Linked DNA regions of Homo sapiens: regions 1, 2, 4, 5, 6 and 7 are each linked to region 3. Evidence: promoter capture Hi-C in 16 types of primary human blood cells and fetal thymus (Javierre and others, 2016). All regions are on one chromosome and are shown on one strand. The core of a region is centred on a gene start or on the middle of the fragment in contact, and the rest is flanking DNA. Distances in the headings are between cores, read along the strand shown. Region 1 overlaps PRRG3 (proline rich and Gla domain 3). Region 2 holds the start of HMGB3 (high mobility group box 3). Region 3 holds the start of CETN2 (centrin 2). Region 4 overlaps FATE1 (fetal and adult testis expressed 1). Region 5 overlaps CNGA2 (cyclic nucleotide gated channel subunit alpha 2). Region 6 holds the start of CD99L2 (CD99 molecule like 2). Region 7 has its middle 17 kb from the start of MIR4330.

Region 1 (2,707 bases), core at 207-2,706, 1.1 Mb after region 3:
TCCTTGCTTCTGATTGGTCTGCATTACCAGGGCCTGTTCTTGCTATTCCTGAGGCTACTCCTACTCCCAGAACCAGCCCCAGGGTGGTACATGCCGTTTTCTCTTTGTTCTCAAACACTTCCTTGACCTCCTCGTAGCTGCAGATCTCCTCCATGCACTCTCGCTCGATGGTGCCCTGGCGCAGCTCCTCCAGGAACTCATTGGCACGAGGGAATCGTTTCAGGACCGAATGGGCATCCTTGGCCTCCAGAAACACTGAGGAGAGAGCCCTACTGAGGCCTGGAATGGGGAGATGCCCAGGGGCTCCTTCAAACCAGGCCCAGCCCAGCAACTGAAGCATAATTATGCAGGGAAACAAGGCCGAGTGAGCAGGCAAGACACCAGGCTTCTGATCAAAGGACATGGCCGGCCCTTTGTGAAAGGGATGGAAGGGCTGACATTCTATGGTGCCATGATACACCTGTCTAGAATACCACAGCCCCAACAAGGTTTAGGTCCCTGGCTACATGGAAGAAAATGGTAGCCAACTGCAAGGAAAGTGCACGTTGCACAGGAACAAGAAAGAATAAGAATTGTAAGTAGGCAATGTTCAGTGACTAAAGCTCCAGTATCTTCTGCATCACCTTGAAAAGTGAAAGTTGGAGCCCTTGCAATGAGAATGTATTCCTCTTTAAGGCTGATACTGGTGGAACTAATACCAGATAATCCTAGAAGACTCTACCAGGGTGGTGTTCCTCCACCTGAACATCCACCTGTGCCACCAGGTGGTCTGGCATCAATAGTCTTGTTCAAGAAAGTCTAATGCAAAGCCAGCCTAGGCTAGATCAGACAAGTGGGCATACACGAGCCTAAGAGCACCTCTGGGGATGGGAAGTAGCAGGGTTCAGATGGAGAGTCTAAGCTTTTACAGACGGGGCACAGAATCTCCCTACAATACCGTCTTTGGATGGTGGGCATATCTACTTATTCCAGAGAGAGACACCCAGCTACAAACAGGCTGACCAGAATAGCTTGAGCTCTGCACCCACATAAGCCTAAGTTGAGACTGTGAAGGATGAAAGAAGAGGTGACGTTTGCTCCTGTTGTTCACCTAGAGGTGGGACTTCCTGGTTCCCATGTAAAGCAACTCCCCCTGGATGCCCAAGCTGGCATGTCTTTGCCAGCAGGCAGGCACCCTTCCCCAGGCCCTATGGCCTGTCACGTTAGTGTCACTCAGGGAAGCCTGGGTAGGTACACATCTACAAGTGACATATACTTCAGAAGGGAGCCAAAGAGTTGAGAGGGCAAAACTGCTACTCAGCCATTTGGAAAATGGCTACAGGCCCACTTGGGGGGTAGGGGGCAGGGAAGCTGGGAAGGACTTGAAACCTGACTCATGAACCCCTAGGCATGGCCCTCCACGGCTCTGCCCAGGCCTGGAAAAACTCACCTGCCATGATGCTCCCTCAGCTGCAGGGTCTCACTTCTCTGGAGTAAGAGAAAAGCAAAGTTGCAGTGAAACCACATCTAGAAATTTACAGGGCACACTCTTGGCTCTGGGATGTGCCCCCCTCCCACTGGCGTGGTCAAAAGGTTGAAGCAGCACCTTGTGGGGTGCGTCGTCCTCCATGCAGCCACCCATGGCTTCCGCTGCTTCTCATTCTGCCCCAAGCTCTTCTCCAGAGACCTCCCCAGGCCCAGTAGGGCCCAAAGCAAACCTTTCAGCGTTTTCCCCCAAGAACATGTTCTGAGCATCTATAAGAACCAAGGGTTGACCTTTTTCTTTTAAAAAGGAAAGCTCCTAAAGGCTGAGGCTCCTCCTTCCTTGCTCCCCTCAATGAATCTTTGCAACTTCCAATTGGAAAGGACCTCAGAGATAGATGAGGAGATACAGCCCAGAGAGACGGGCTCAGACAAGGTTAAGCAAATCAACAGTGACAGTGGCAGGACCAGAATTCACAACTAATTTTGAGCACAATGGTGAGTCACAGATACCTCCAATGACAAGCATGTTCCCTGAAAACAAAGCTTAACACAGCATCAACCATCTCAAAAGTCACTGCCCTGCTGGGACTAGCCTATAGCAACCTTCAGTGGACACATCTTCTACAGGGTCTCATCCTCCATGCACAACAATGCTGCATTCTTCATATTCCCAGGCATAATCAGAAGGCCCAAACCCAGGTGACCCGCTGTGTTCATCTTCACCAGACAAAGAGGCAAGATACCTGGAATCTTCTGGAACCAGGCCTCTCTTCTCTCTTTGCATTAAAGCCCATGGCAGTAGAGTGCCAAGACATGAATTTAGATGCCCGACACTGAGACGCTAACTACAAGAGTTGCCCCTAATGTGAGCTATTGTCAGAAAGCCTTTCTCCTGCTAAGGAGCTATCCAGCCAGTACTTAAACCATGGTCACAGCACACTGCTCCCTCTGTCCCTCCCCACAATACACACGCCCACTCATACACACATTCTAGAGCCCTTGCTGAGCTGTCCACATCTGGGAGCAATCACCCCACTGCTCCCCTCCCCAAGCAGAAGCTCTGGTTTGATGACTAACTGGATGCAAGACACGTGAACTGTGGAATCCATTGAGCCCTCCTTTTTGCCTAGGCTGCCAGGAAGTTCAGCGTCACTATTGCCAGTCAAGCACAGGCACCCTGGAAGCCCAGCTGTTAAGCACATATGCTTCTGTCCTGCGATGTGGTATACAGCTTTCTATTTAT
Region 2 (2,923 bases), core at 344-2,843, 1.8 Mb after region 3:
GAAAGAAATCAGCTTCATTGTCGCTTGTCATTTAACTTTTGACCAGCACGAAGCGCGCTGGTTTGCGAGTTACTTCTCAAAAGCGATCAAGTGCTCCAAATGGAGCCGACCCAAGTAGGGTACTCAGTGTTACGTTTACAGAACTGCTATGTTTTGGAAACTACAATCACAAAGTGGGAAGGGTAGAGAGAGGACACATTTGGTGGGGGTGATAGAAGCTTGAAATCTATGACTTAAGACTATCTGGTCATCTGCTAACTGTTAACACAATTAAAAACAACAACTCTTACCACTGCTGAACACAAGACCAAAGCAGGAGAACTATACGTAGGGGACATCTGAAATTGTCACTATTGTTGATGTGTTTTGGCTTACTAAAAAAACGGCTTTACAACACGGGAGATCTGGAAAGTGAGCAGGTACCCCCGTACTATTAGTTCAATTCATCACTTCGTCACTATCTAAAGGGGGAGGGTGTATAAAAAGGGCTAGTCGTGCTCATCTGTAACCCAGAATGCAGGTCCAGCCGAGAACACTTTCTCCAAAGTTTCCAAATAAAAATGCAGCTGCGGCATGTCATCGTCCCTGTCCCACCCCCCAGCTTCCCGCCATCTTTTCCTTTTCCCACACCCAAGGTCATCATGTAAAACTAAAGAGCTCCCCTTGGCAGCAGCCGCCCAGGAGGCTGCCCAACAGAGACCCGCAGCGGCGGCCCGGGCGGGGCGGGACCGGGAGCGGGGGAGTCCCGGCCGGCAGCAGGCAGCCCGCCTCGGCCCCCGTGCCGGGTCACCGGGACACCCGTAATTCACCTTCCATTTTGTCAAAAGCCTCCTGATGAAAGAAAGTGCCCCTGAAATCCGCCGCTGTCATCCCCGGGGGACGCGCGGGGCCGGGGGCGGCGGCGGTGGCGGTGCGCGGGGGGTGTGCGGCCGGGCCGGCGGCAGCCGCGGCACTGGTGGCGGCGTCCGCCGCGCCTCGGAGTCCCACTCGCTAAAATGGCTGATCCGCGCGCGGCCGGCGCGGGCGGCGGCGACAGCGGCGAACAAAGCGGCCCGGGCCCCGCCGCCGCCGCCCGCCCGTCGGCCCCCACCCCGCCCCGCCCCGCCCCGCCCGGGCCGCCCGGGGGCTCGGGGGCCCGGGCCGGACCTCCCCGCCCCCCGGCGCGGGGCGCACTCCTCGGGATAACAAAGGCGCCCGTGCAGCCATGACGCTCGGCCGCTCCAGGGCCCGCAGCGGCGCCCCCGGCCCTCCGAGCCGCCCGCCCCGGGCCGCGGGCGCCGGGGCCGAGGCCGGAGCCCGCCGGGCGCCCCGCCGACCGCTCCGCCCGCCTCCCCTGCCCTCGCCGGAGGCCAGCGCCGCGCCAGCCATGTTAGCGGCGGCGGCGGCGCCGGGCGGGCGGGAGGCGAGAGGGGGGCGGCCGGCCCGCGCCCCCCCGGGCCACCGGGCGCTCCGCGACGGCCATGTTAACGCAGAGCCAGCGGCGTAGCCTGCGGGCCCGCGCGGCGCCGGGCCAAGCCCGGGAGCGAAGTTTGCCCGTGCGGCGGCCCCCGGCGGGCACCAGCCGCGCAGCCCCCGGCGGGCACCGGCCGCCCGTTCCCCAGCGGAGTCCGTCGCGGGCCGGGGAACTCCCGGCCCCCTTCCCGCTGCCGCCGCCCAGCGCCCACAGCCCGCAGCCGCCCCTCTGCTCGCCCAGCCGCCGCAGCCGCAGCTGCCCAAACATCTGGCCTCGGGGGCCCTGGGTTCCCGGCTGCGGCCCCTGGGGCCGCCACGGGCGGGCGTCCGCCGAGGGGGCCGACCCCCGAAAGCGGGGAGCTCGGGGAACGCGTTGGAAAAGTTGAAACACCTGAATTGCTTCTTCCTTCCCGGCCGCCTAGCAGGAGGGAAGGCGGAGGGGGCGGGAAGGGAATGGGGAGTAGAGGCAGGGGGAGGCGGCGGCAGGGCGCGCTCACGGCGGCGCGGGCCGGAAAGTTGTGCGGGCGCTGCGGCGGCGGCGGCGGCGGCGGCGGCGGCGGCGGCGGCGGCGGCGGCGGCGGCGGGAGCGGGCGGTGCGAGACGTACCTGTATTGTTCGCTAGTCTGGGCAGCGCAGGGCACGACGCGCGGCTCAGCGCTCCCCAGCCTCGCGCTAGCTGCCTCCACGAGAGCCGCCTGATTGGCCAGCGGGCTCTGCCGTTTAAAACAGCCTCCTCGCCTGGCCATTGGCTGCGGGCCTCATGCATATTAAGCAGGCGTGGACGCCCATTGGGCGCGGCTGCTGGGATCATTCATTCAAACAGAACGACCCGCCGGCGCCGGCTACGGAGGCCAAACAGGGAAAGACCTAGTCTCGCCTGCCCGCCCCGCCCACCTCGCCAGCCCCCTCGGGGAACAGAACTGGGATCGCCAAGGGCTTTGAAGAGGTGGCCCTGCGATTCCCGGAGGCCTCGGCCTCTGGCGTGGGAAGATGAAGTCCAGCCCCGCTGCGCTGCCCTCTGCTCCCACCGCACCGCGGCCTTGGCGCCCCTGGCCTGCAGTCAGCTCCCCTGCCCGGGGAAACACCCCTGGGCCCACCACGAAGGGCCGATGGTAGACCACCTCTACCCGGTTCGGCCGCGGCGCCGCGACAGAAACGCGGCGGCAGCTCGCTCCTCGATGCCTGGCGGAGGGCAGCTGCTTGCTCGCCAAGACCTCGGGATTTAGTCCTCGGATCTCGCTGCCTATCCGAAAGCCACCTGATTCCGCTTCTGCGGATCGTGCTCAACTAGGCTCTTTCCACTAAATGCCAGAAGGTCTTTATTTGCGCCCGAAATTGCGGAACCGACGGGCTAAAAGAGGAAAACAAAATTTGGCAAGAGCAGAGAATTTGTGAGAAATTGTAGTTTTGTGGGCAAAGAATAACACTTTTCTTCTTACCCTCTTCACTGTCTCGGTTCAAGGCCCTCATT
Region 3 (2,884 bases), core at 108-2,607:
AGTGTTCTGGGGCTGGAGTGAGCCAGACGAGAGAAGAGTTGTGGAGCGATGGAAGGGGACACGTCGTGCCAAGCTTTGGAGATCACAGTGAGAACTCTGGCTCGTACTACTTGGGGGGATGATGATGACCCAAAAGTCAGGAATCTGTTCACTGCTGAAGAGAGAAGAGGGCAAAGGGCAGCAGCTCCATTTAAAAGGTTCTAATAAGCCTCGGGCCTTTCTCTGTCTGAGAAACTTACTCTCTGCCCTCTGTCTCCCTAGATTACTGCCCCTATGCCTGGAGGAAAAACAGGTGAAGGCTAAAAGCCACGGGGATAGCTAAAGAGGGCAAACTGGACCTCCAGCTCCACTTCTGCAGGTCTATGTCAGTCCACAGCCCTTGCACACGCTCCCTTTTAATTCTCCAAGCATACCTCTCACTTCCAAAACTCCTGTGACTCTGCTGATGAGGGCGTCTCGGCCTGGAATGCTCCTCCTTATCTGCATTGTGTGGGTGTCAAAAAGAGTATATTTTGATGACCTCTCCCCGCCCCTCATGCTCGCTCACATCCCCCTCACTCCTTTCAAAGTCCGTTCCCAAAGGCCCCAGTTCACCGTCCTGGGCTGCTTTTAGCCAGGTAAGATCTAAAGTGATCCTCTCTTGGAACCTGGTCTGGGGCCTATACATCTGGGTCAGTCTAGGGGTGCTCTCGAAGGGCCACCCTCAAAGAGCGAGCCTCGGCTGGATTCAGTTCCTAGGTCCCAGCCGTCCGACCTCTGCGACAACACTCAGCACACCCCTTCCCCTCTCCGGGTCTCAGTTGCCCCGTGAGTACAGTCCCTGCTCCAACACGCAAGGTAATCGTTTCTGGCTGCTCTGATGCACTCGGTCCCTAAACTCAGCCTTAGGTCAACCCAGAAAGCACCCGACCCGGGCGACCCCGTAGCTCCCCACCCTCCCGCACTGCCCAGTCGCTGACACAGGGTGACCTCCAATGGCAAGGCCACGACTCTTACCCGTCCGTAGGCGCCCCCCTGTCTGGCCTCAGCTCGCAAGCAGGCTGCACCCACTGAACTCCAGGCCCGGACCGCCACCCTTTACTCCCCTCCCGCGTGAGCCGAGAATCAGCCGAGCTTCCTCCACCAAGAGGATTGGCCCAGCTCGGCGACGACTCAGCCAATTGGCGCTCACGGCGTGATCTTGCCCAATAAAGACGGGGCTCTGTCGCCAGCGTGCCCCTCCCCGCGCTGGGCCGGGGCTTTGCCAGGTTAGTCCCACCCTCTTCGGCCCTGCACCAATAGGGAGAGGCGGCGACGAGCGGACGGCCAATGGGGAGCGGGGCTGCGCGCGCGGGGCGGTGGGAACGGCGCCGAGTCAGTGTACACGTCGGTTGCCTAACAACCGGCAGCGGACTCCTTTGGCTATGGTGAGTGCTGCCGCTCTGTCGCGCCCCACGCCCAGCGGCTGAGCCCTTCCCAGGCCCCAGCTCGGCCACGCCGCCTCTCCTGCGCCTTTCTCGGCTTTAGCGCACCAGTCTTTCCTTTGAGCTCTTTCCCGGGAGAGTAGGGTACAGACGCTAACCAACCTACTGGGCCTGCGCTTCGCTGCTGCCTCCTCTTCACCCACAACAGGCCCACACCCGCCCCTCGGGCTCCCCTTGCATTCCCTGATCCCCTCGGTGAACCTCCCTGGGCAAAAAAGACTCGAATCCCTCACAGGCCCCTGACTCTCTCAGACCTTGGCCCCCTGGCCTCCTCATTCTGCCAAAATTTCCACACACAGCTGGGAAAAGGTGTATCGTGTTCTGTTACAATGTTTTTTACAATTTAAATACAGGGGCATTCAGGGGATGCTTTAGCTTCTTGGAGAAGGCACGAAGGTGCCAGATGGATTGAGTTTTATTACTCGGTACTGACACAATATACATCTTAACAACTTACTAATATTTGGCCAAATCTAGAAGTAATTGGGAAGTCGGAGTACTTACTGGGAAGGGGAGTACTGGGAGTGGGCATCGTAAGACTGTTTTCAGAACCAGGATCCCCACGTTCGGGAAGAGCTGATTATCTCTAGTTATTCACAGTCATCTTCTTGACTGGCTCTCTTTTGGGATGATTTTCAGTAAGAGGTGTCCTTACTGAACAAGTGATCTCCCTGCTTCTAGAAACAACAGTAAAGAAAAGGGAGGGGTAGAAGTTCATGGAAAGATTCATTGTTCTTGCCAGTAAACCCTGTTATCTTTCTTTTTAAGCAAAGCTTTGGAATTGGTTATATAAATGACTTTAAAAATACATATGGGTGTCTGTAACTATGTTATGTAAATATGGACTGTATGATATATTATTGTGCTTGTGTATTGCATAACATATAAAGGCCTCCAACTTTAAGAAGGCAAACATGGCATCAAGTTCTCAGCGAAAAAGAATGAGCCCTAAGCCTGAGCTTACTGAAGAGCAAAAGCAGGAGATCCGGGAAGCTTTTGATCTTTTCGATGCGGATGGAACTGGCACCATAGATGTTAAAGAACTGAAGGCAAGCTCTGTGCATTCCTGCCGTACTGCCCTTCCTTTCCTCTGCCTCTTCCTTGTCATCTCCCTATCACCTCTCTACCCCTTTTGCCCTCTTCTCCCTGCAGTAAGTAACAGGGGAGGTTGTACTGTGCTGTTTTCCTGTCTTTACTTACTTTGAGTATTATTCAATAAAATTGATTGCAAATATCAATTAGATCAATGTCATAGTGTTCCCCAATCATATTAACATGACCACATCAGATGCTGGCTTAATGCTCTCAACACTGTTATTTTTGCTCCTGCTACTTTAGATGTGCTTATTGAGACGATCCTGTTTTCTTTATAGGTGGCAATGAGGGCCCTGGGCTTTGAACCCAAGAAAGAAGAAATTAAG
Region 4 (2,826 bases), core at 252-2,751, 1.1 Mb after region 3:
TCCTGGCCAGGCTGCTCACCAGCCCCTCTGCCCCACTCCGGGCCCTGTCTGAGCAGCCAGGGCCCACAGACCCTCAGCTCTTACCGATCATAATGGAAACGTATGCCTTGGAAATTGCCAGCGTACTCCTGGAGATGGGCATCCCCATGGCCTGATTCTCTCAGCATTCTGGGCTTTGGCAGCTGGGACCCCTGAAGAAAGGAATGGTCAGTAAAGTAGCCTGCCCAACCCCACATGAGTGGCTTCTCCAGTTTGCCCAGAGCCAATGGTGCACCCCATGGGGAATCACATGGTGCCTGGTCTCTGGAATCAAGGGCTGGCAGCTTCAGGCCGCTAGGAAAGCTTGGGAACCCCACACAGGCTGCTGGCCACCACCCCACCCACACCATGCTCCTCGGTAGCTCTTGGTCATCCAGGCAGGCTGTGGCAAAAGAGGAGCAGTAACAGGGGTCCCTGTCCTCTGCAAGAACTTTCACATGCAGGTATTAGCTGAGAGGCTGAGCAACCTACTGAAGGAGAACGTAAAACCTTGATTGGCAGCCCAGGCCATGGAGGCCTGGCGAGATGCCTTTACTTTCCAAGGATGCGTGGTAAATGTCAGGGCTAAGGCTAGAACCCTGGCTACTGGGAAACCAGCAACTCCTCTGGGTAAGCTCAGCCAGCCATCCCTGTGGCTTTCATTTTTATCCATCTGCCAACAACTCCCTAGCATGTACATCTCTGGCCCAGAGCCCTTGGGCCAGGGCCATCTGATGCCTTTGAAGCATCAGTGGGGGATAGAGGAAAAGAGCGTGGCTTTTGGTGCCAGACCTGCCTGGGCTCAAATCATAGTTCTAGGTTTCCAGTTCAAGATGAAATGTTTCACAAGCTGCTTATTTAACACACACCACATGCCAGGGACCATGCCATCCTCTAAGCCCTTACCAATACTAAGTGACTGATTCCTCGTCACAGCCCTGTGAAACGGTATCATTATCATCCCGTTTTGAAAGTAGGGGAAACTGAAACACAGAGAGGTTAATTACCTTGTCCAAGTCACACAGCTAGGAAGTAGCAGAGCAGTAATTTGAACCCAGGACATTTCAGTCCAGAGGTTATACTCTCAGCCATTACACTACGATGTCCCTCATATTTAACACTCCTTCCTGTTAAGGCTCCACTAATTGCCAGTGAAGACAGTAAAACAGTACAAACCCATAAGACAGAAGACAACACAAGAGGCATCAGCTAATGAAAGAATTCAATAAAATTCTGGAATCTAGGAAGTGTCCATGGAGGAACTAGGCCTCATTGTGGATGGGAAGCAGATGGGACTCAGCTGACAAAGGAGGCCCCCGCCAGCAGCATCCAGAGAGGACTTAGACCTGCAAGGACAATGGCGGCATATCACAAGAAAGGAGGGGAGGGAGGAAAACAGGGCCTTTAACTAATGATCTATGTAGGAAGCAGTCATCCACACTTCTCACTCCTGGTTGGCAGCCAGGCACTTACCGCCAAGCCAAAACCTGAACCAAATGAATAAGAAAGCTGGGGTGAAAGTGACACAAAATAAAACCGTCTTCATTCTGGCAGGGTTCAGGGTGCCCCACATGACAGCCAGTTCCTTACCCGCTCACCCTGCTGAAGTAGAGCCTGTCATTTGAGAGGCCTGACTGAGGCGCACAGAGTACTGGGTTAGCTCTTCTATTTGCCTCATTCTTACAAAAAAATAGACAACCAAGGCTCACCTGTCACCTGAGAAATATCTGCAGCCCTCTTCTGTTCCGAAGTAACAACATCAAACTGAAGGTGGATCAATTTCTGTGTAAAGGATTTTCATAGGAACTTTGCCACTGCACTCTGTTTGTTGCAATAAGGCATAACTAATCTTTCTCAAGAGGAGCACACAGATATTGGTGCAACTTTTTTATGAACCGTAGTTCATGGTCACAATATTTTATTTTCTTAAGATACTTCAAAAATTGCATTAAAAAGATAATGGGTATTAGGGAGACCCCATGACTATAATTTGATCAATGATGTCTCTTAGAAAAATTTTCAGACCATTGCTTGATTTTCCTATAAATTGGAATCAGAAGGACAAAAAAAATTTTGAGAGATTTGAAGGCAAAAAATAAGGATGAATGGCTGATGGCTGGAATTTGTTTGTTTGTTTCAGATAACATAGTTTGTTGTTAACCCACCAAGTCCCAACTTCTCTCTGTTAATCATTTCAAAAAATGTTATTTTAATTTCCATGTAATTTTAAAGGCACACTGCTTTTTTCCAAGTCAGCAGGATAGCATTATTAACTTTTCTCACCCTTGCATATTATGGTTCTCCTAGAGGCAGTTCCATTAACTGTTTTATTCAAAAATAAAGGAATGAATGAATTAATAAATAAATAGAATTAGTAAATTAGATTTCCTAATTCTAAATTTCTAAATTTAATTTATAAATTCAATATAATGTCTATATTTTCAAACAGTCTACCTCTAGCCCTTGTAGTCAACTTTAATTAAACCAGAGATTATATCTCCCCTAGTCTCAGGGACATTAGTGGTTTGCAGGAGCCTGACCTCCTGGAGCAACTTGATTTGGCTTCTGTCTTTGGACACAAAAAGTCAACTCAATATTTGACTTATTTTTATTCCCAGGAAACCTCTAACCTGGAAGCTTTTTTTCTCATTCTTCACTGGGGCCACCCAATAAATCATTTCAGCAATCGAGTCTCCCTCCCTCTCCAACCTTATTGCCCCCCAGTAACTTTCAAACTTCACTGTGGTAACAGTAAAGCCACCATTTTCTAAAATTTTCCCTCATCCATCTGAATGTGGTGAAAAGCAC
Region 5 (2,827 bases), core at 228-2,727, 1.1 Mb after region 3:
CCAGGGAGACGCACCTCCTCCCTTGGGCCAGGGCTTTGGGGCAGTGGCTGCCTTGGAGCTGCTCGGCAGCTTAAGCATGTGCCAGACATCTGCAAAGCGAAGGCACAGGAAGATGGCTTAAACAGTTTTTGTTTGTTTTGTTTTGTTTCAGCTTTGATAGTTTGATAGTGAGGGCCCTCTCCTCTGCGCAGAGCAGGAGAGGGACAAGTCAGTGTTCTGTGCCAGAAAAATCCCTCTGGCTGCTCTGTGGAGCCTGCATTAGAGGGAGAACAAGGGTGAAGGTTGGGGCAGGGAGGAGGCTGGACAAGAGTACCAATGGAGCCCAAGACAAGAGGGCAGAGTGCGGAACTATCTGGGAAGGAGATTGAATGGGACTCAGAGGAGTGGATGTGGGGAGCAATGGAGAGAGTGGGTGGGATCACAAAGAAAGAGGAGACAGAGTGAGGGTCTGGGGCAGAGTTGTGGAGAACCCCAATATTTCAGAGTTGCACAGAGGATGAGGTGTCCACAAAATAGATGGAGAAGGAACAGCCGAGGAGGTAACAATCTAGAGGAGGGACAGGAGATTGTGTCCCACAGTGTCTCTTGCCACAGAGTCAGGAGATACTTGGAGGAGCTCTTCCCTGCCAGGGCTGGTTGGCATGCCCTACCAGGTGTGGGCAGAAATGGTCAGCATGACCCCCAGATTTCCCACAGCCCATGCTGCTGGACCCACAGTCCGGAAGCTGTCCCTGGAGCTCCCTCAACCCCCGCCTAAGCTTGTTCCAGCCTCTGAAGCTGTCACCATGGCGATGGCAGGCACGTCAAACAGCCTCAGAGATGCTCACCTGGTGCTCTCTGCGGAACTATGGCACCAGGATAGTAACGAGGGCACTTGAGGGAAAGGAACCAGCATCACTGAGTCCCTGCTTGGACCCTGGAGGCAGCAGACCATGGAGACAAAAAGTTTCAGGCAATGCAAACAAAGCCGGAGCCATTCGCACCAGAGTTTCAGGGCTGGCCTCCTGGAAAAGCTGGTGTTGAAGATGAAGCTGGCAGATCAAAAGGGCTGTAATCCAGGGCCAGGCCAGTGCTGGGGGCACAGCATATGTTCACATCCTCTCTAAGGTTCTGTCACAAAGGCAGATTCCCCCACCCCATGACCCCTGCTCCTTCTGTACCAGGAAACAGACCCGTCCCTGAGCCTGACTGCCTGCACACCCTCCCCTTTGCCAGAAACTGCCCCCTCATGCTGCTTGCTGGAAACAAGGCAGTGGGGCTGGTGGGTCTCATGTATACACCCTCTCCAGGAAACCTCAAGTCCCAAGGCTCCAGCTACCATCATGTCAAATCAGCTCCTCCTCAAAGTTACCCACCTCTGAAAGGGGCCTGCCCTCTTCCCAGTCACTCAAGCTGGAAGCCTGGTGTCAACCGTAACTCCTTGTTTCCTTTATCACATCCAAGCAGCCTCTGCCCTGAGTAGATTGTCCCCACAAAAAGCGTCAAAGTTCTGTCCACCCATTGCCCTCCAACCCCAAGGCCCTGGACTGGTCTCAAGCCTTCAACATGGCTCTCCAGGCCTGCTGCAGTGGACTCCAGATGGCTCAGTGTTCACTGGGGTCTGGACTGGAGGTGGGCGCATGATCACCAGGGTTTACATTACAGGTAAAGCTCTCAGGGGGATGTGTCCATCCCCATATCATGAGAACAGAGAAAAAAGCTAAGGGTAGAGCTCTGGGGAGCTGCAACCATGAAAGACAGCTGAGGGGCTGGGTGAGTGAAGGAGAATGAGGCTGGGGATGTGAGAAACATGAGGGAGTTCCCAGGGAAGGCAGAACTTTCAGGAAGGGAGCTGTCTGCAAGGCCAATGCCCCCCTCCCATATCAGGAAGATAAGTGTTCTATGCCGGGTACTTCTTCCCCCTGAGATGAGAGCTGGAGCGGGCACTGGGTGGAACAATAGAGGCCTCGCTGGGGACCTTATCAAGAGTAGCGTCAAGGAGTGGTGGTCAAACAGAGCTTGTTTCATGAAGTTTCAAGCGAGGAGTAGGAGGGGACAGACAAGAGATAGAGCACATAGCTCAGTCTTTCTAAGAGACTGAGCAAGAAAAAGAGGAAAGATAGAGTGGGAACTGGAGGAGGATAGGGGGCTGACAAAGGTTCTCTGTCTTGCTGTTGCTGTTATTTTCTATGTCAAGAAGATAATAAAGCAAGCTTAAAGGTTTTGAGGAGGAATTCAGTAGATAATAAAAATATGTGTGCTTGTGAGCCACTCCAGTTGAGGCTGAAGCCCATGAAACATGGGTGGAATGGGAAGGTTCAGGTACCAGAGGAAGTGACAGGAGACAAATCCAGGACAATGGGAAGGGGTTGCTGAGAAACAGGCCACAAGACAGTTGAAGGGATTCACTCTTGCAAAACCCCAGTGTTCTAAGTGAAATGGGAGGGATGGGGGGATCTCATCTTCAGAGACACCAGGCAGCAGTAGGTGCAGACTTTGGAGGCCAGAACGTTTGCAATAGCTGCTGCAAGGACAGACAGGAGATACCAAACAAGTGCGAGGACAAGAAAAGGCTTGGCAAGGAAGATGACAGACCATGTACCTACCAAAGAGAACAGAGATGGGCAACAGATCTTAGATGAGCAGTGGGATTCTCAAGGAGGGTGGTTTAACAACCTAGAGTAAGGCATGATTATTTGGTAAAAAGTCCAAACACAGTCAAGGTGGAGTTGTAGGCCTCTTTTCTCCTTATCCACAAGTTGAGCAGCCAGCCCAGGACTTTAAAGAAAAACCAGCCTAGTCAAGGAGTTTATTGAAAGAATTTTGAGGAAAATTCCTTCCTAGAGAA
Region 6 (2,953 bases), core at 354-2,853, 1.9 Mb after region 3:
TTGTACCCGGTCTGGCTCTACAGCACACATTCTTAGCCATTCACCAGCTGGGGTTCCTAGTGGTACCCTCCCCCTTTGACACATGAGACTAGACCTGGCTAACTCCCCAACCTCAAGGAACCTCCATTTTGCTGCTTTTCCCTCGTTAATAGGTGATGATACATAAGGCATTGTGAGGAATAAAAATTAAGGGTAAAATGCCTGGAATATGCCATGTGTATAGTGTGTGTTCAATAACTACCAGCTATTTCTGTTAATTCTACAGCTAGAATGGAATAATGTTCCATTCATAGAGTAATTAATGCCCTGAGCCTGGGAAGATCCACTCCTCATATGCTGTTTTGTTTCTGCAGCCCTAAGATTCAGGGCAATGGATGTAAGCCACACGGGAGATTTCGGCTCCATCTCAGGGAGACCCCACACCCCACTGTTCCTTAGGGGTTGGTGGGAGCCACTGAGGGGGGTGCCTATGGCAGCGAGGGCTGGGTTGGGGGCACAGGAAAGCTGCCGAATGGATATTGAGGGGAGGTGGTAGTAGCCGCCCTCTAAGGAGGATGTGGCCCTGGGCAGCCGGTGCCGCATAATGGCAGGGACAGGCTCACGCTACCACTCCGGAGAGCAGTAGCGCTTCCTCTTTGTCTTCGAGAGCCGGTTGCAGCTGGGGCTCTTCTAGGGAGCGTTCCCATCAACTGCTGCAGCGGGCATTTTGCTGGTCGGCACAGTATCGTATCGGAATCTGATTTCTTCGGGTCTGGGAGACGGACTCCGTTTGCGGGGGTTCATGGGAAAGGACTGCAGCGCGTTTGTCGGTCATTAAGCACGTTTTTGAGATCGACTCTGCAGATATGAACTTGCACTTTCAGCGCATTCATCAAAGCCTCGGGAGAGCTGACCCAGTCCCTACCCCCAGTCTCCCGAGCCCGCGGCGCTTCGGCTCCGGGACGCCCCCATCCTCCCCTGTCGCCCACCCGGGCGCCCCCGGCCTCGTTTTCTCGAGACGTGTCACTGCTTGTTGACCGCAGCCAGTCACGAAAACGGTCCTTTTCTTCAGTCTCCGGCCAGGGTTTCACTCCTGCAGGGAACAGCGGGTGGGGACAGAGTGCGGGGCTCCGTGCTGGACGGTGTCTGGAGGGGCCCCAAGGGAACAACCCTTCACCGGGAGAACACCAAGGCCAGAAGGGGAAGAGCCCTTCTCAAGGTCACCCGGGAGGAAATCGGCGCCCACCGGCGCTGCCGCCTCCCGCTCCCCGGCACTGGTGACTCACTGCTCCAGGTCCGCGGGGCCACCTCCGAGACTTCGGTCTCGAGGACCGAGGTGGGACAGGGTCTGCGGACCGCGCGCTGCCGCTGGACCCAGCCCAACCCAACCCAGGCCTCCCCACCCACCGGGTGCCCGCAGGCCACGCCCCTCGCCCGGAGCCCCGCCTCCAGAACGCGGCCCCGCCCCCGATACTGCAGCCTCGCCCCGCCCCCCGGCCTAACCCCAGCCCAGGCGCCCTCAGGCGCCGGCTCTCTAGCGCGCCCGACCTCCATCTTCCCGGGGCCGCGCCGCGCGCGCGCGCGGGCTTTGGGCGGGACCCTGCAGAGGCGGCGGGGCTCCTCCTCCCGCTCCTCCTCGGCCTCCCCTTCGGGCGCTCTCGCGCTAACTGTGCTCCTCCGGGGCCCTCCGCCTGCTCCCAGCCATGGTGGCCTGGCGCTCGGCGTTCCTTGTCTGCCTCGCTTTCTCCTTGGCCACCCTGGTCCAGCGAGGTAAGGCGGGCGGGGGGCGCGCGGGGACCGCGCGGGGACCCCGCCTTGTGGGCCCAGGGGTCGCTCTGCGCATGAGCGGCACGGTCCCCGCCTCTCGGGCCTGCGGTGGCTGCCACCGGCCGGCCCGGCTGTGCGAGGCGGAGCGGCGGGGGTCCGAGCCCCGGGCCCGTGGGGGTTGACTCCGCCGCGGTCGGAGTAGCCGGAGAGGAGGGGTGGGTCCCCTCCTGACGCTGGGCTGGAAACAGCGGGATGGGCCCCCTAAAATCCTGAACGAGCAGGTGTACCACTGGTGACAACAGCTGTCCCCAAGAGTTTACCTTTGAGAAAACCTTGAAGAGAGCAGTCATTTTCGAAATTTGCTGCGAGGCCACCGACAGCAGAAGCACCTGGGGAACTTCCTAGGTGGATTCCTAGCCCCTTTCATCGGGATCACAGCGGGCATGGGCTGTGGGGGGGGGGGGGGGGGGTCAGCGAGGCGTAGGTCTAACCAGCTCTCTAGGTGCTTCTGCCGTCCGCTTCAGTTTTTGAGACTTTGGTCATGTTTTGCCAAGGAGCAGGAGAGAGAAATCCCGCTGAATCAAGGAAGCACGTTTCTTAGACCCTCTGCTACTCAAAATGTGGTCCAGGGCCCAGCCGCATAGGCATCACCTGGGAGCTTGTAAGAACTGCAGCATCTCACGCCCCGCCCCCGACCTACTGAGTCTGATTCTGCATTTCAACTAGATCCGCGGGTGATTCTCTGGCACATTCAAGTTTGAGAAGCATCTTAGTAGAATAAATGCAGTCTGTGGTTAAAAATAGGGTCTTAAACATGTACCAACAGAATCTTCTTACACTTATTTATATCCTATGTCCCCATCAGAAAAAGGGATTAAGGGAAACACTGTAATTGAACGTGAATTATGCTCCAAGCTTCCTGACAATAGAAGCGAACCCAGCTGGTGGAAAATATGTGAGCTCAGGAAACACACACACACACACACACACACACACACTTTGTCCTAGTACTGAGTTCTAGTAAGATTTATGTCACATAAAGGAACACTGGAAAACAGTGGATGGTACTAGCCAAGCCACTTTTGCAAAAGATGCAGAAATGTTTTTCATGTGGGCAACCCACCTGGAGTTGATTCACGAAGAGCCATTTAACATTCTGCAGAGGTGCCAGGCTCTGTTCTAGGAACTGATGATGCGGTAGTGAACA
Region 7 (2,987 bases), core at 57-2,556, 1.7 Mb after region 3:
GCACTCCAGCCTAGGTGACAGAGTGAGACCCTGTCTCAAAAAAAAAAAAAAAAAAAAAAAATTCCAGCCCCCATCACTACCCCTGCTCTCCCTGTGCTCTTGCTAGACATTGTCATACCTACCTGCCTCAATATACAAATGAAGAGGCCAAGATCCGGATACAGGTAGAGACTTGTCCCAGGATGATCCAGTGGGTCACTTCTCACAGTTCCTGGGTGCACCCCCAGAGAAGCTTTGAAGCACATGGAATTGTTGGGGAATCCATTTCTCTGATTTTAAATCTGTATAATGGACCTTAGAGAAACTTTCAGCCTGAAGAGGAATACCCAGTGACCCAGACCTCCTTCCTCAGCGACCACTGGCGAAGAGGAAATAAAATAGGTTAGCCCTGGTGCTAGGAGGTATCCCGGGAAGCCAGGCTGAATCATTCTGAGAGTGGGGATAGGAGCGGAAAGAAATTTGGCCTTTGAAATGGATAGGTCTGGTACTGCAGAGATGGGGGAACAGGCCACCTGGGGCCCTGTGGCAGGGCAAGCCCGGGCTGCAACTAAAGAACTAAGATCCAGCAAGATTCCATCTTAGAGCTGGTGCAAACTGAGGCAATCGGTAAGGGAGAGTATGTCATTCTCAGTGAAAGAGCGCCCTCTAGTGTCCGTAAGAGACCTTGGCACCACTGAAGAATTTGGAAAGAATAAGAAGTACACAATCTCAGTAACCAGATGAGACTCAACTTGCTACCTTTCCTTGATTGTAGCCAAATTTTTCCTCCAACACATAGATACTTTCAAGTAATGAAAAGCAATTAGTCATGAGGTGAATTTGTGGATTTCCAGGAATTATAAGCATAGGTCTGAGTCTGAAGCCTGAAGGAGCACAGACAGCACCCATGGGCCAAACCTATGCTCTGGAATATTCTTCATGGTGTAGGTGTCTTGCACACGTGTGCATGTCATTTTTCTTTACAATGTAATTTTTAATATTTTTTTAGAAAATTGATTTATACTTATTTCAAAAAGCTTGGAAAACATAAAAGTAAATCTCTGGCCTTGAAGAAGTAACAGAATCTGGAATTACTCTTCCACCATAAGCAACTGGAAGTTGGATACAACATACGAAAGAACTAATTTTAGGCACTAGACAAGAGGCAACACGCATGGCATCACAGATAAAGAAAGAAATGAGGTAAGCCCAAACCTTGGAGCATGGAGGAGTGACTCAAGCAGAGCAAAGAAGTTTCCCTGAGTTGAAGAATTGGAGATTAAAGTTCAAGGAGGCTGAAGTAGCTAAAATGTGCGGGACAGAGTACCAGAGATGAGGCAACTGCATGGAGAAAGAACTCCAGAAATCTGACATGGGCTCTCCTTAGGTCTTTACTGAGTACTAGAGTGAGCAAAGAACAACTGGGAAGTTTTAAAAGAACTATGCTCAGAACTCACACAAGACTAGCAGACATTCAAACTCTGGCCCAGAGGAGTAAAGAATCCTCAGTAGTTATCTATGTCATTCAATGGAGACCCCAGAGGGATCATACATTAGTAATAAATCTGAGGTATCCCCAGAGAAAAGGCTACTCTGGACCTCCTCCAGCAAAGCTTAAAAACAAAACTTAAAGAGACAAAACAGAGTGACAGACAACTTGCTTCTCTGTCAAAACAAAGTCCCACAGTCTTTGAAGAAGATAAAATCCACTCAATGATGTAACATTGACAGTGTCCAGAATCCAATCAAAAAATTGTCAGATACACTAAGAAGCAATAAAATGTGAGCCAAATGGAACTTCCAGTGCAGAAAAATATAGTACCTGAAATGAAAATTGCACTGGATAGGAGTAACACTAATTAGACTTTACAGAAGAAAAGGTTAGTAAACTTCAAAACATAACAATTAAATCTATATGAAATGAAGATTGAAAATAATAAACAGAATCTCAGTGATCTAGGGGACTCAGAAGGGGGTGCAGAAAAAATATTCAAAGAAATAATGGCCAAAATTTTTCAAAATTTACTGTAAGCTATAAACCCACAGATCAAAAGCTCAACAAACTCCAAGAAGACTAAACATGTAGAAAACCACAAGGCACATAAAAATTAAATTGTTGAAAAGGAATAAAGCTGGAGACATCACACTATGACTTCAAAATACACTACAAAGCTATAGTAACAAAAACTGCATAGTACTGGCATAAAAACAGACACATAGACCAATAGAACAGAACCCAGAAATAAATTCATGTACTTACATCCAACTGATTTTCAACAAAGATGCCAAGAACATTCAATAGGAAAATGATGTCTCTTCAATGAATGGTGCTGAGAAAACTGGCTATCTGTATGCAGAAAAATGAAACTAGACCCCTATATCTCACCACATAAAAAAATCAAAATAGATTAAATACTTAAATGTAAAGCCTGAAACTATGAAACTACCAGAAGAAAACATTGGAGAAATACTTCAGGACATTGGTCTGGGCAAAGATTTTGGGGTAAGACCTCAAAAACACAGGTAACAAAAACAAAAATAAACAAATGGGGCTTAAACTAAAAAAGTTCTGAACAGCAAATGAAAGTAGAGACAACCTGTTGAATGGGATAAAATATTTTCAAAATATGCACCTGATATGGGAATAATAATGTCCAGAAAGTACAAGGAACTCAAATCAACAGGAAACAAACAAACAAACAAACAAGTAATCCATTAAAAAGTGGTCAAAGGACATGAATAGATATTTCTCAGAAGAAGATATACAAATGGACAACAGATATATGAAAAATGCTCAACATCACTAATCATCAGAAGAAATGCGAATCAAAACCGTCATGAGATGTCATCTTACCCCATTCTTAATAGCTACTATTAAAAAGACAAAAAATAACAGACATCGGAGAGAATGTGGAAAAAGGGGAACTTGTATACATTGTTGCTGGGAATGTAAACTAAAACAGCCACTATGGAAAACATTATGAAGGCTTCTCGAAAAATGAAAAATA

What was found. The method cuts DNA at HindIII sites, captures the fragments that hold promoters and counts their contacts. A CHiCAGO score of 5 or more calls a contact.
Region 1: a fragment that was not itself captured here is called in contact with the fragment with the promoter of CETN2 in region 3 in 1 of 17 cell types (M0 macrophages); the score reaches 5.1 in M0 macrophages.
Region 2: a fragment that was not itself captured here is called in contact with the fragment with the promoter of CETN2 in region 3 in 4 of 17 cell types (naive CD4 T cells, activated CD4 T cells, total B cells and 1 more); the score reaches 6.9 in naive CD4 T cells.
Region 4: a contact is called between a fragment that was not itself captured here and the fragment with the promoter of CETN2 in region 3, in 1 of 17 cell types (M0 macrophages). The highest score is 5.1, in M0 macrophages.
Region 5: a contact is called between a fragment that was not itself captured here and the fragment with the promoter of CETN2 in region 3, in 2 of 17 cell types (M2 macrophages and endothelial precursors). The highest score is 7.0, in M2 macrophages.
Region 6: the fragment with the promoter of CD99L2 here is called in contact with the fragment with the promoter of CETN2 in region 3 in 6 of 17 cell types (M1 macrophages, activated CD4 T cells, non-activated CD4 T cells and 3 more); the score reaches 8.1 in M1 macrophages.
Region 7: a fragment that was not itself captured here is called in contact with the fragment with the promoter of CETN2 in region 3 in 2 of 17 cell types (naive B cells and naive CD4 T cells); the score reaches 6.1 in naive B cells.

Annotation. Positions count from the first base shown.
Region 1 is chrX:151,697,544-151,700,250 of GRCh38, reverse strand. PRRG3 (proline rich and Gla domain 3) reads right to left here. Exons shown (of 4, transcript NM_001372163.1): 2 at 1,430-1,467; 3 at 95-255. The coding sequence starts at 1,436. Among named protein-coding and RNA genes, the nearest start is that of PRRG3, 3.4 kb to the right of the region's middle. The HindIII fragment of the contact is 1,106 bases long and covers 904-2,009 here.
Region 2 is chrX:150,982,512-150,985,434 of GRCh38, reverse strand. HMGB3 (high mobility group box 3) reads right to left here and starts at 2,100. Exons shown (of 5, transcript NM_005342.4): 1 at 2,059-2,100. RefSeq lists a silencer at 2,070-2,269 and an enhancer at 2,391-2,923. The HindIII fragment of the contact is 2,746 bases long and covers 221-2,923 here.
Region 3 is chrX:152,829,230-152,832,113 of GRCh38, reverse strand. It overlaps CETN2 (centrin 2), which reads left to right and starts at 1,357. Exons shown (of 5, transcript NM_004344.3): 1 at 1,357-1,406; 2 at 2,354-2,512; 3 at 2,837-2,884. The coding sequence starts at 1,404. It overlaps NSDHL (NAD(P) dependent 3-beta-hydroxysteroid dehydrogenase NSDHL), which reads right to left and starts at 1,051. Exons shown (of 8, transcript NM_015922.3): 1 at 997-1,051. RefSeq lists a silencer at 1,118-1,457. The HindIII fragment of the contact is 2,163 bases long and covers 76-2,238 here.
Region 4 is chrX:151,718,760-151,721,585 of GRCh38, reverse strand. It overlaps FATE1 (fetal and adult testis expressed 1), which reads right to left. Exons shown (of 5, transcript NM_033085.3): 3 at 85-191. Among named protein-coding and RNA genes, the nearest start is that of FATE1, 4.1 kb to the right of the region's middle. The HindIII fragment of the contact is 2,313 bases long and covers 345-2,657 here.
Region 5 is chrX:151,735,055-151,737,881 of GRCh38, reverse strand. All of the region lies in intron 1 of CNGA2 (cyclic nucleotide gated channel subunit alpha 2), which reads right to left. Among named protein-coding and RNA genes, the nearest start is that of CNGA2, 1.7 kb to the right of the region's middle. The HindIII fragment of the contact is 1,434 bases long and covers 761-2,194 here.
Region 6 is chrX:150,897,318-150,900,270 of GRCh38, reverse strand. It overlaps CD99L2 (CD99 molecule like 2), which reads left to right and starts at 1,603. Exons shown (of 11, transcript NM_031462.4): 1 at 1,603-1,749. The coding sequence starts at 1,683. RefSeq lists a silencer at 1,319-1,928. The HindIII fragment of the contact is 7,642 bases long and covers 1-2,663 here.
Region 7 is chrX:151,149,513-151,152,499 of GRCh38, reverse strand. No RefSeq gene overlaps it. Among named protein-coding and RNA genes, the nearest start is that of MIR4330, 17 kb to the left of the region's middle. The HindIII fragment of the contact is 576 bases long and covers 1,019-1,594 here.